Linked DNA regions of Homo sapiens: region 1 is linked to region 2. Evidence: promoter capture Hi-C in human tissues and cell types (Jung and others, 2019). All regions are on one chromosome and are shown on one strand. Each heading gives the region's core, a stretch centred on a gene start or on the middle of the fragment in contact. The rest is flanking DNA. Distances are from core to core; before and after follow the strand shown.

Evidence for each region. The method cuts DNA at HindIII sites, captures the fragments that hold promoters and counts their contacts. A contact is called where the count stands out against the background at its distance.
Region 1: a fragment that was not itself captured here is called in contact with the fragment with the promoter of SH3GL2 in region 2 in 1 of the 25 tissues and cell types used here (hippocampus).

What each region holds. Positions count from the first base shown.
Region 1 is chr9:17,042,838-17,048,126 of GRCh38, forward strand. All of the region lies in intron 2 of LOC105375983 (a long non-coding RNA gene), which reads left to right. Among named protein-coding and RNA genes, the nearest start is that of CNTLN, 90 kb to the right of the region's middle. The HindIII fragment of the contact is 5,698 bases long and covers 1,111-5,289 here.
Region 2 is chr9:17,576,454-17,581,598 of GRCh38, forward strand. It overlaps SH3GL2 (SH3 domain containing GRB2 like 2, endophilin A1), which reads left to right and starts at 2,613. Exons shown (of 9, transcript NM_003026.5): 1 at 2,613-2,834. The coding sequence starts at 2,790. RefSeq lists a silencer at 1,425-1,623. The HindIII fragment of the contact is 4,711 bases long and covers 93-4,803 here.

The DNA of each region.
Region 1 (5,289 bases), core at 2,710-5,209, 530 kb before region 2:
CTGTGGGGTCCCACAGCTTTTAAAGCCCCGTGTCAATAAGGAAGCTCTGGGGCAGAAAGCAACATGTGGCAGATGTGGCATGGGGTGAGGGACTGTTGCATTTCACTCACAGACTCATGGCTGGTCACCACAGCAATGTCTGGGTGGGAACAAGTTGCTTAAGGCTATGAAGATTGGGAAGGTCAAGCTTACCTGAGGGGCGAATCTCCAACTTCAGTGTGCCCTGGTAAATTCCGAGTCCCCAAAAGGATGCCTGTTATGGGGCCACAAAGCAGCTTTCCCACTTCATCTAGCTTGCTCCCTCCAGTGCGGCTTCCCCAGCTGCTGCTGCTGCCCTGGGTTGAGCAAGGAGACAGCACCGCCTCTGCTGATGGCGGTCCCCAGGAAACAGATTTTCTGATGCTGCCACAGTCTTCTCTTTGGGGTGCCAGAATTGTTCTGGGTCAATGTGAAGGATGGAAAACGGCAGGGGAGAAGAAGCCAACCTCTAACCTCCCACCACATTTTGTCACCAGCTCCTGAAAACTTTGCTCTCACTGGCTCCATGAAGTCCCCCAGGGGAGCTTATTTTTCTTTTCTTTTCTCTTTTCTCTTCTCTTCTTTTCTTTTTCTCTTTCTTTCTCTTTTTTTTTTTTTTTTTTTTTTTTGAGACGGAGTCTCACTCTGCCACCCAGGCTGGAGTGCGGGGGCATGATCTTGGCTTGCTGCAACCTCCACTTCCCAGGCTCAAACGACTCTGCCACCTCCTGAGTAGCTGGGACTACAGGTGTGTGTCACCACGCCCTGCTAATTTTTGTATTTTTAGTAGAGACGGGGTTTTACCCTGTTGGCCAGGCTGGTCTCGAACTTCTGGCCTTAGCTGATCTGCCTGCCTTGGCCTCCCAGAGTGCTGGGATTACAGGTGTGAGTGACTGCACCTGGCCAGAAAGCTTATTTTTCTTTCTATTTCTTTTCTTTTCTTTTTTTCTTTCTTTTTTTTTTTTTTTTTTTTTTGAAACGGAGTCTCGAAAATCTGTCTCTCAGGCTAAAGTGCAGTGGCGCAATCTTGGCTCACTGCAACCTCCGCCTCCTGCGTTTAAGTGATTCTCATACCTCAGCCTCCCAAGTAGCTGGGATTACAGGCGCCCGCCACCACACCCTGCTAATTTTTGTTTTTTTTTTTTTAGTAGAGACAGGGTTTCACCATATTGGCCAGGCTGGTCTTGAACTCCTGACCTCAGGTGATCTGCCTGCCTTGGCCTTCCAAAGTGTCGGGATTACAGGCGTGAGCCACCACGCCCAGTCTTGAAAAGCTTATTTTTCAATGGACCCTTCCATTTCTCATCTTCTTCAAACCGTCCCCCTCTCTCTACATGTCTCTATGCAGGATTCCTGCAGGTGATCCAACAGAGAAGCCGATTATGAGAAGCAGGAGATGCCTGTTAGGGAGCCACAGTGAGGTGCTGTGGTTGCACCAGTGTGAACCTGGTCAATGTCTGTGAGCACATGGTCATCACAACATTGGCTGGAGGAGACAGTGGAGTTGAGAGGATCTGAGGGGGACACAAAAGAGGTGCCTGACTCAGTGAGATTTCCCCAATGGAGCAGGGGAGAGAGATGAGGCCCAAGACCTGCAAACACCTGGGAGGCTGAAGAAAGACAGAAGGGGCTGAGAAGAGACCAATGAAAAGGCATCAGAGAGGTAGGAGGAAAATACTACAGTAGTAAATATAACCGCTAAAGCCGTAACAACAACTCTAGCAGTAGTGGGGATAGTCATAGCAGTGAGCTCTGTATAAACGCGGACTCTGCGGCAGGCACTGTTCTAAGGTCTTTATATATATTAACTCGTTTAATACAGCTGGATGAGGTGGCCACAGTTACTCTCCCCAGTTGCACATGGAGTCACCAAGTTACTGAGACATTAAGGTTCACAACTCAGGATTTGAGTCCACAGCCTGTACTCCTCACCACATCACCCTGTGGACCCAAAGAATATAAGGTACTCCTGAGGCAAGGGAGGATGAGAATCACAAGGAGGGAACAGGCAAGGGCATCTCTGCTTCCTCGGGAGAGAATGAAGACTAAAGAAAGGAGGAAAGGCCATGTGATGTGTGAACAAGAAGAAATCAGTCACTTTGGAAAATGTAGTGTGATTTGGGTGGTGAGAACTCAGACTGCAAAGGGCTGAGGACAGCGTGGGGCCCAGGTCAATTTTTGAAGTCCTTTGCTAGTGAAGAGAAGTCAGTGTCTTATTTTAGTGTAATACTCTCAAGTCCTGGTTTCTTAATGGAAGAGAGGGATCCTGTATCTGGGGAAGGACAGTGTCATCAGCAGGACCTTAAATGTTACTATGCTTGAGTTGGCACAGTTCTCTGAGGTCTAGAAAATGTCCTCAGGTGGTGTCTCTCATGCTAAATGCCATTTAAAAAAGTGAAGAAGCAACACAGTGCTCATTAGAGACTGAGGAAGCCTTTGAAGACAGGAATAATGAGCATATTTTTACTCTCATTCTTTGCCATTTCTGGTTTCCCACAAAATGGCAGAAAGGGACACGCTCTCTTGCCAACCTTCTACTTTCCCTCCTCCTGCCTCATTATCTGGGCCCAGTCATTATACTACATTTTCTGTGTGTTTGGATAGAAAAGCCAGCTCTTCAAACCATAACATTGGCAGCAATTTTCTTCCTACAGTTTGTAAAAATTAAATCACAAATCAAAAGAATATGAGCCAAACATGCCGCAGCCATTTGGAGTTACATAAAAGGGAAGCCATCAACACCTCCCTATCTTGGCTGATGAATGTATCTGATATTTCAGACTTATTTCTTGGTTCTTTCATGACCACAAGACCAAAACTAATCAGTCCAATTAGACAAACTTCCAGATTATAGCTCTGAAGTCAACTCAACAAGTAACATATCCAACAATATAATTTGCCAAGTGTAATTTGCAGGATGCAGGGGTGGGGTGGGGTCAGGGGGAGGCGGTTCCTGATTTATCACAGCAGCTAAAGCCATATTCCAGTCTGAATACAAAATAGACAAAGAAAGAGAAAGTTAGATTAGGGGCACTGAAACTACTGATCATCATGTTTTTCCGATATTAAAAAAAAAAAAAAAGAAAAGGAAAAGAAAAGCTGAGGTTAAGAACACCATCCAGTAAAAGCCCTCAAAACAGTTACAAAAATATGTAAAACACATTCCAAAGGAATTAAATGTAAAAAAAAAATCAAACTCAAAGAGAACTAGAAGAATATATAGATATTTTTCTGATTATAATGGTAGGATGGTCTTTCCTAGCATGCAAAGAAAAAAAAGCCCATGAAAATTAAGAGATTTTACCACATGAATATTTAGTTTTTCTGTACCCCACAAAAACCACCATAAACAAAATCAGGCCTAAGACAAATATTTGTAACCCATATGCTAGAAAAATGATTTACATTCTCAGCTTTATTTTTAACTGATTTTATTGGGATATAATTTACCACACCATTCACCCATTTAAAATGGACAGTTAATGGTTTTTAGATATTCACATAATTGTTCAAACATTACCACAATTAAGTGTGTAATATTTTTATCGCTTCAAAAAGAAACTTTTGTACCCACTAAAAGTCACTCCCCGTTTTCTCCCAACCCCCTAGCCCTGGGGGGTTTCTACTTTCCATCTCTATATATTTGCCTAGTGAGAATATTTTATGTAAACGGAATCATACAAAAAATGCTCTTTTTGTGCCTGGCTTCTTTGATACTAGGAGGGAATATACAACTTTCCTGTAGAGTAATTTAGGCATATTCATAGTTTCAAAGTTATTTATAGTGGTTATCCAATAATTCTTATTTCAGGAATTTGTCTTAAGGAAATAAGAGATGTACACAATAATTTATGTACAAAGAGGTTAATAAAGCATTATTTGTAATAGAGAAAAATGGAAAGAATTCAAATGCTCAACAATAGCAAAACAGATAGATCCATATCCATAAAATGGAATGCTACACCATCATAGATAATTAATTGCTACAAATATGCAAGGTCATAAGAATATGCTCATAATATATTATTAAGTCTACCTACCTATTTGTCCATTCATCCTCAATATTTTATTGCTGGATAAGGAAATGTAAATCTGAGTGATTTGTTCTCTTCTTTATACCCCTTTGGTTTCTCCAATTTTAAAATTTAATTAACATGTATGACTTTTATAACAAAAAGCCATCATTAGAACAACTCACTGAATTTTAGAATCACCTCATCTAGCTCATTGTCTAACACTTTGGCATTCCTTGTATCAGTTAGATTCTCTAACTGACAGAAAACAGTTACATTATAGAAAGGCATGCAACTCAAACTGGCTTAAGCAAAAAAAGACAATTGATTGTCATGACTGAAAAATTCACTGGCAGTAATGGTTTCAGGCATAGCTGGATCCAGGGGCTAAAAGGTATCATCAGGAATCAATCTTCCTCTTTCAGCTCTTTGTTTTTGTTTTCCTCTATTTGGTTTTATTCTTAGATGGGCCTTTATTTTTTTAGGGTTGTTCCTAGTAGTTTAGAAACTACATAAGAGGGAAGAAATTTTTCCTTTAATAATTTTAGCAAAAGTCTCAGAATTTAATCTGACTGGACCAACTTGGGTCATGTGCTTATCCTGGAATCATTACTGTGGCGAAGTGGATAAGAAGACCTGAATAGCTCTCCACCCCCAAATTATCTGTTAATTCTTTTAGCCAGGGAACAGTTTCACGTTAATTTTATGAAGAGAGAGAGGTGAAAGAATGGTTCTCTGAAAGAAAATCAGTGTGCTATTGCCAGAAAAGAGAATGAGTGCTTTGCAGCCAAAAAAAAAAAAAAAAAAAGTCTTTAATTTCCCTGGTCTGTAATACATGGTCTCCCTGCATCTCCAGTGTCTGAAGCAGTTAGCTCCATTGAGTTCACTTGGGTTCATTTGAGTTCTTCCTTACACCAATCCAATATCTACCTCCTGCTAAGTCCACCTGATATGGTTTGGTTCTGTGTCCCCACCCAAATCTCATCTCAAATTGCAATCCCCACGTATCGGGGGAGGGATCTGGTGGGAGGTGGTTGGATCATGGGGGTGGTTCTCCCATGCTGTTCTCATGATAGTGAGGGAGTTCTCATGAGATCTGATGGTTTAAAAGTGTGCGCCTTTCTTTGCTGTCTCTCTCTTGCTGTCATTAAGATGTGCCTTGCTTTCCCTTTGCCTTCTGCCAGGATTGTAAGTTTCCTGAGGCCTTCCCAGCCATGCAGCACTGTGAGTCAATTAAACCTCTTTTCTTCATAAATTA
Region 2 (5,145 bases), core at 1,363-3,862:
CATTGTTCAATTCCCACCTATGAGTGAGAATATGCGGTGTTTGGTTTTTTGTTCTTGCGATAGTTTACTGAGAATGATGATTTCCAATTTCATCCATGTCCCTACAAAGGACATGAACTCATCATTTTTTATGGCTGCATAGTATTCCATGGTGTATATGTGCCACATTTTCTTAATCCAGTCTATCATTGTTGGACATTTGGGTTGGTTCCAAGTCTTTGCTATTGTGAATAATGCCGCAATAAACATACGTGTGCATGTGTCTTTATAGCAGCATGATTTATAGTCCTTTGGGTATATACCCAGTAATGGGATGGCTGGGTCAAATGGTATTTCTAGTTCTAGATCCCTGAGGAATCGCCACACTGACTTCCACAATGGTTGAACTAGACACTCCTGTTTTTAAAACCATCAGATCTTGTAAGACTCATTCACTACCACGAGAACAGTGTAGGAAAGACCCACCCCCATAATTCAATCACTCCCACTGGGTTCCTCCCACGACACGTGGGAATTGTGAGAGTTACAATTCAAGATGAGATTTGGGTGGGGACACAGCCAAACCATATAAGATGAGGTGCAGAGGATGCCTGGGCGACTAAATCAATGGTTTCCAAAGGATTTAATGTAATGCCCTTAAGTAGTTTTTTTCTCCCAAGGTAGTTTCTTTGAAGTTAAGCAGCATGAGACTTCCAGGTTGGTGGATGAAGAACCAGGGAAAGATAGAAACTGCCTTTTTTATAATGTAGGGCTCAGTTAAGTATTCAAAGTTCCAAGGAGGCAATTCAGGCCCCCATTTCACACCTTTCACTGTTAGAGAGCAGAGCTCCTATCCATCCCAGGCCCTTCCACTTTGTAGATCAATTGCTCTATCTTTTGGCAGCTTCAACAAAGCCCTGTCTTATGAAAATGCTTTATTGTTCAGATCAGGGACCTGGTAGTAAAAATTAACTATAAAATACTTTTTTTTCTATTATGCAAGTAATGGGTAGCCTTTTTAAAAATTGGAAACATAGAGAAAAAAGTTTATTCCTAACAACCGGAGCCTCAGTGGATTAAAATTACTCAGGTTTCTCACTGATGCTACATGCCCATTGAACGTCAGGTGGGGACTCTGCACTGCTTTAGTCTCACTCTGGATACTGGCTGACAGACCACAGCTTTCTAGAATATTGCGGCCGAGGAAAAGAAAGCTTTGCGGCATCTCATACATCTCATATTGCTGCTGCAGAAGTGACAGTCACTTTTCCTCTTAAACCTCTAGTCAAAACTTGTAACCATGCCTCCACTTAACAAGAGGTTTGGAAAGTGCAATTCTGCCATGTAGGGAAAGGTATATGAACAGTGGTAAGGGCTACCACACTGGAGAATAGCTCCTTTCATCTGCCTCCCTTTGCAGCCTGCGTCCCTAGTCCATGCGCTCTACTGCTCCAGTGCCCACCACTGCTTGACTCTGCCTTTGTGTGTGTCAGTTCACATTATCAAGAAGGACCATGACTGGTAGCTCTACGGATGGAGGACCCTTTTGTAGCAGGTGTTCACCCTGTGCCCAAGCCGCAGTGCCTAGAAGAGTGGGGATGGGTCTGTGGCTCCTATCAGGCTGCAGGAGTTGCGGAGACAGAAAAAGTATTTCTAGGACTCCCATTTGGCCTTGCAGTCTCTACACATCCTTGGCAATTTCTCCCATCTTGGCTTCTCCTTCTTATCACTTTGGTCCACATACGGGGACAGCGTCTAAGTTCTTTCTGACCACCTCCTCAGTCCTAGAAAAACCAGACTTGGTTAAGTACCAGAGCACAGAAGGCATTTAGTGCTGCTCTGCTCCCAAGTCATCTATTAGTTTCACTTTAGCCAGCCATACCTCCTTGGTTACATATGAAGCATCTGTATATAACTTAGTATCATGCTTTTTCACATTATATTTTGATTTTTATCGGACCGGAAACCCTAAATCCACAAGCATAACAACAAGATCACATTTGGGCTTTTTCATTTCTGTAACCAGAGGATTGAACGCTAGTTTTGTAGTAAGACTTCAATTCTATTTATCCGTCCAGGCTTAAGGGTTCCTGTTCTTCTTTTTAAGTCATTAAATTGTATCAGACAAGGGGGAAAACGCGTGTGTGACTTTCCCTAAGGTAAGATGGGCTTAAGGGATATTGAAACCAGGGCAGAGAAATGTTTTCTGTGACCCACCAGTCAGGGCAAGGCATAGAAGGAGCAATGACTTATTCATTAGCCCAGATAGAAGGCCAGTCTTTTTCAGGCTGCGGCGCAGAGACGCCAGGCTCAAAGGGCAGGAGGGCCGTCTGCAGGCAGCGCCGCCGCGGCTACCTGGAAGCCCAGCAAGTCACCTGAGTCCTGCGGGTGCCTGGGCTGCCAATCTGCAGCGACCCGTCCGCAGCCCCCGGGGGCAGGAACACCAACCCCGGGACAGGAGGACGTCCTCGGCCCGCTGACTAGGGATCCGCCAGCGGGTGCCGCTGAGCCACATCCCCGCAGTTGGCGCCAGCATCCAGGTACCGCGCGCCACAGCACCTGCCTGGGCGTTCCCGCGCTTGGGGCGGGGCTTCCCGCGTCCCCTTTAAGAGGCCGCATCACCCGCCCTTGACGTCAGAGTGTTTCTCCGCAAGAGCCCGTGTCCCGCTAGGCTCCGCGCCCTCGCGCCCATAGCCCCGGCGGCGGCACGACCAGAGGCGGCCAGGGGAGCGCGCCGCCCCGCTCGGCCCTCCAGTCCCCCTCCGCCTCCTCCCTCCCGCACAGCAGCCGCCAGCGCGGCCTCCTGCACCATGTCGGTGGCCGGCCTCAAGAAGCAGTTCCATAAAGCCACTCAGGTAAGGCGCGCGGCAGGTGCGTCCCGGGGCAGTCCGGGGCGAAGCTGCGAGGGGCGCGCTCGGCGCTGGCCGTCCGGCGGCAGCTTGGGGAGTTCGGCACCGAGCCTCGCCCGCGCCGGCCGCGCCCCGCCTCGCAAGCCAAGGCGGCGGCTCGGGGCATCCCCGGTCTGGGCGTCCACCCTCGGTCCCCCGCCCCCGGCTTGGTGCGCGCTGCCTTCCCGCGGGTCCCCGGCGTCCTGCCTGGTAGCGCTGCTCGCCGCCCCCGCATCATCTCGCGCCCGTGCTGCAGGAAGGGGACCGCGGCTGCACTGCTGCCGCGGCGCGCAGGTGCCTTGGCGGCGCGGTGGGAGATTATGTAAAGTCGCCTCTTCACGGGTGACCTTGCGGAGTCGGTGCACCCGGCTTTCCCGGGATGTGTTGGCATGAGCGGTGGCCGCACTGGGGGTGGCGGGGCGGAGGCCGGCGGTTTGCGCTCCTCTCCCTTACCCTGTTGTCAGAACCCTCCTTCCCCGCCGCCCGCAGGCTCCAGGGGAATGGAAGGCTGGGGTCTTCCTTTAGGGACCCGCATACATTAACTTTTACCTGGAGAACTCGGTCGTGAAACTCCTTTGAGGCCAGGGCATGACAAACAGTCTGCGGGTCTTAAATATTTCCCTAAAACAACCAAATTGTTGAAGACTTAAAATCATCATGTATTTTAAATTGTTTTTAATAAATCTTTGGCATCTTGGATGTGCCCATTTTTCTTTATGGGGTTAATAAGCTGTGACTGTAATAAAACTGATTAATTTAGATTCTAATAATTAAAATCATTGGACTCAAAGAATTTTACATAGGGGCAAGTAAGCGAATACTTACGCTGTGACCTATTTCTTACATAATGTGTGTGATTACTACTTTTTTATCCTTCTGAAATAGGTTCAAATTTATGGGATCTTTAAGGATTTTGATGACTTACCGCGAAATGTTTTTCATGATTTGGTGTTAAATAGTTTTTCATAGGTTAGCCTTAATTAACGAGCTTTCTCATAATTTCTCGGAAGTAGTGAGGTTTTTCCTAGGCTACCACAGTGGCAGCCTTGTTATGAACCACATCCAGAAAAGGTGAGGGTTGTGTTTTACAGAACCTTGGTTAACTTAGGGTGACAGATGCAGCATGTAATTCCCGTCGTGTGTGTGTTTGCACGCATCTGCATCATCTTCATCACACATTCTTGCCTTTATAGAATCAATTATACCTGTCAACTTAGGAAATCAAGAAAAGTAAGACTATTTCTGTAAAAATGTTTCTTAATGTAATTATTTTTGCTTTTCTATTATAATTGGAGTTATCTGTGACCTCTCTGCCAGACATGTTTATGAAAGTAAGTGATTTGTTTGTTGATGTAGTTTGGAAGGCTTCTAATAACTTTATACTGCAAGTTCTTTCAGGTTTACAGAACCAAGCATATGTGCTGCCCAGGAATTCTGTGGCAGGACTTCTTCGATATTACTAACCTTTTTGATTGCTCTACTGGTCACTTCTCTATAGCATATCTCAGCACTGCGTTTACCAACACATCTTTTTTCCACTTGGATTCTAAAGATTTCTTTTGCAAAGCTTAGTGCCCTCAAAGGCAATTAAGAGTCTTGGCTTTGGAGTGGGAAAGGCTAAGGTTTGAATCCTGCCTCTGCTGCTTCTGACCTTGAGAGAGTATTTAACTTCTGAACCTGTCCATGCTGAAGTGATGATAATTTCCGTTGTCTCTTCAGGGTTGAGGTGAAGAGAAACGAGTGTGTAGAACACACGTATAAAGTGTTCAATAAATTATAGTTATTGACATAAAGGATATTTTTATTAGTATAAAATACTATCCCTTATGCTGTGAAGAAGTTACCCAAGCTAGACCTTTTAGTTTTTCCAACTTAAAAAATAGAGCGCTCCATTTCCGCTAAATCTTGAAGTTCTGTGTCGCCCTAAAGTGTAGAAAAAATAATTTAAACTGCGTTAGGAAAGAACTTAAAAGGTTGGAGAAGGTCGGCATGTGATGCGATACGGTTAATGTTTATCACACCGAATCCAAATGCAGAATCACTGCGTCATTGTCTTCCTTTTACTGAAAAGCCTTTTATTTGAAAGGTGAAGCAGCACGTAGTCTCTTATCCATAATTTAGTGTAGCACACTCTTAGAAAGTCTAAGGCACAGGTGACTGTTCTGTGCATATGTATATTTAGGAGAGTATGTAAAGCCCATGTTAATGTTTGCATGTGACAAAAAAATTAGAGAAATAGTCCTGTCCTACTTTTGTAGCCATTTTTTTCCATCAGGTC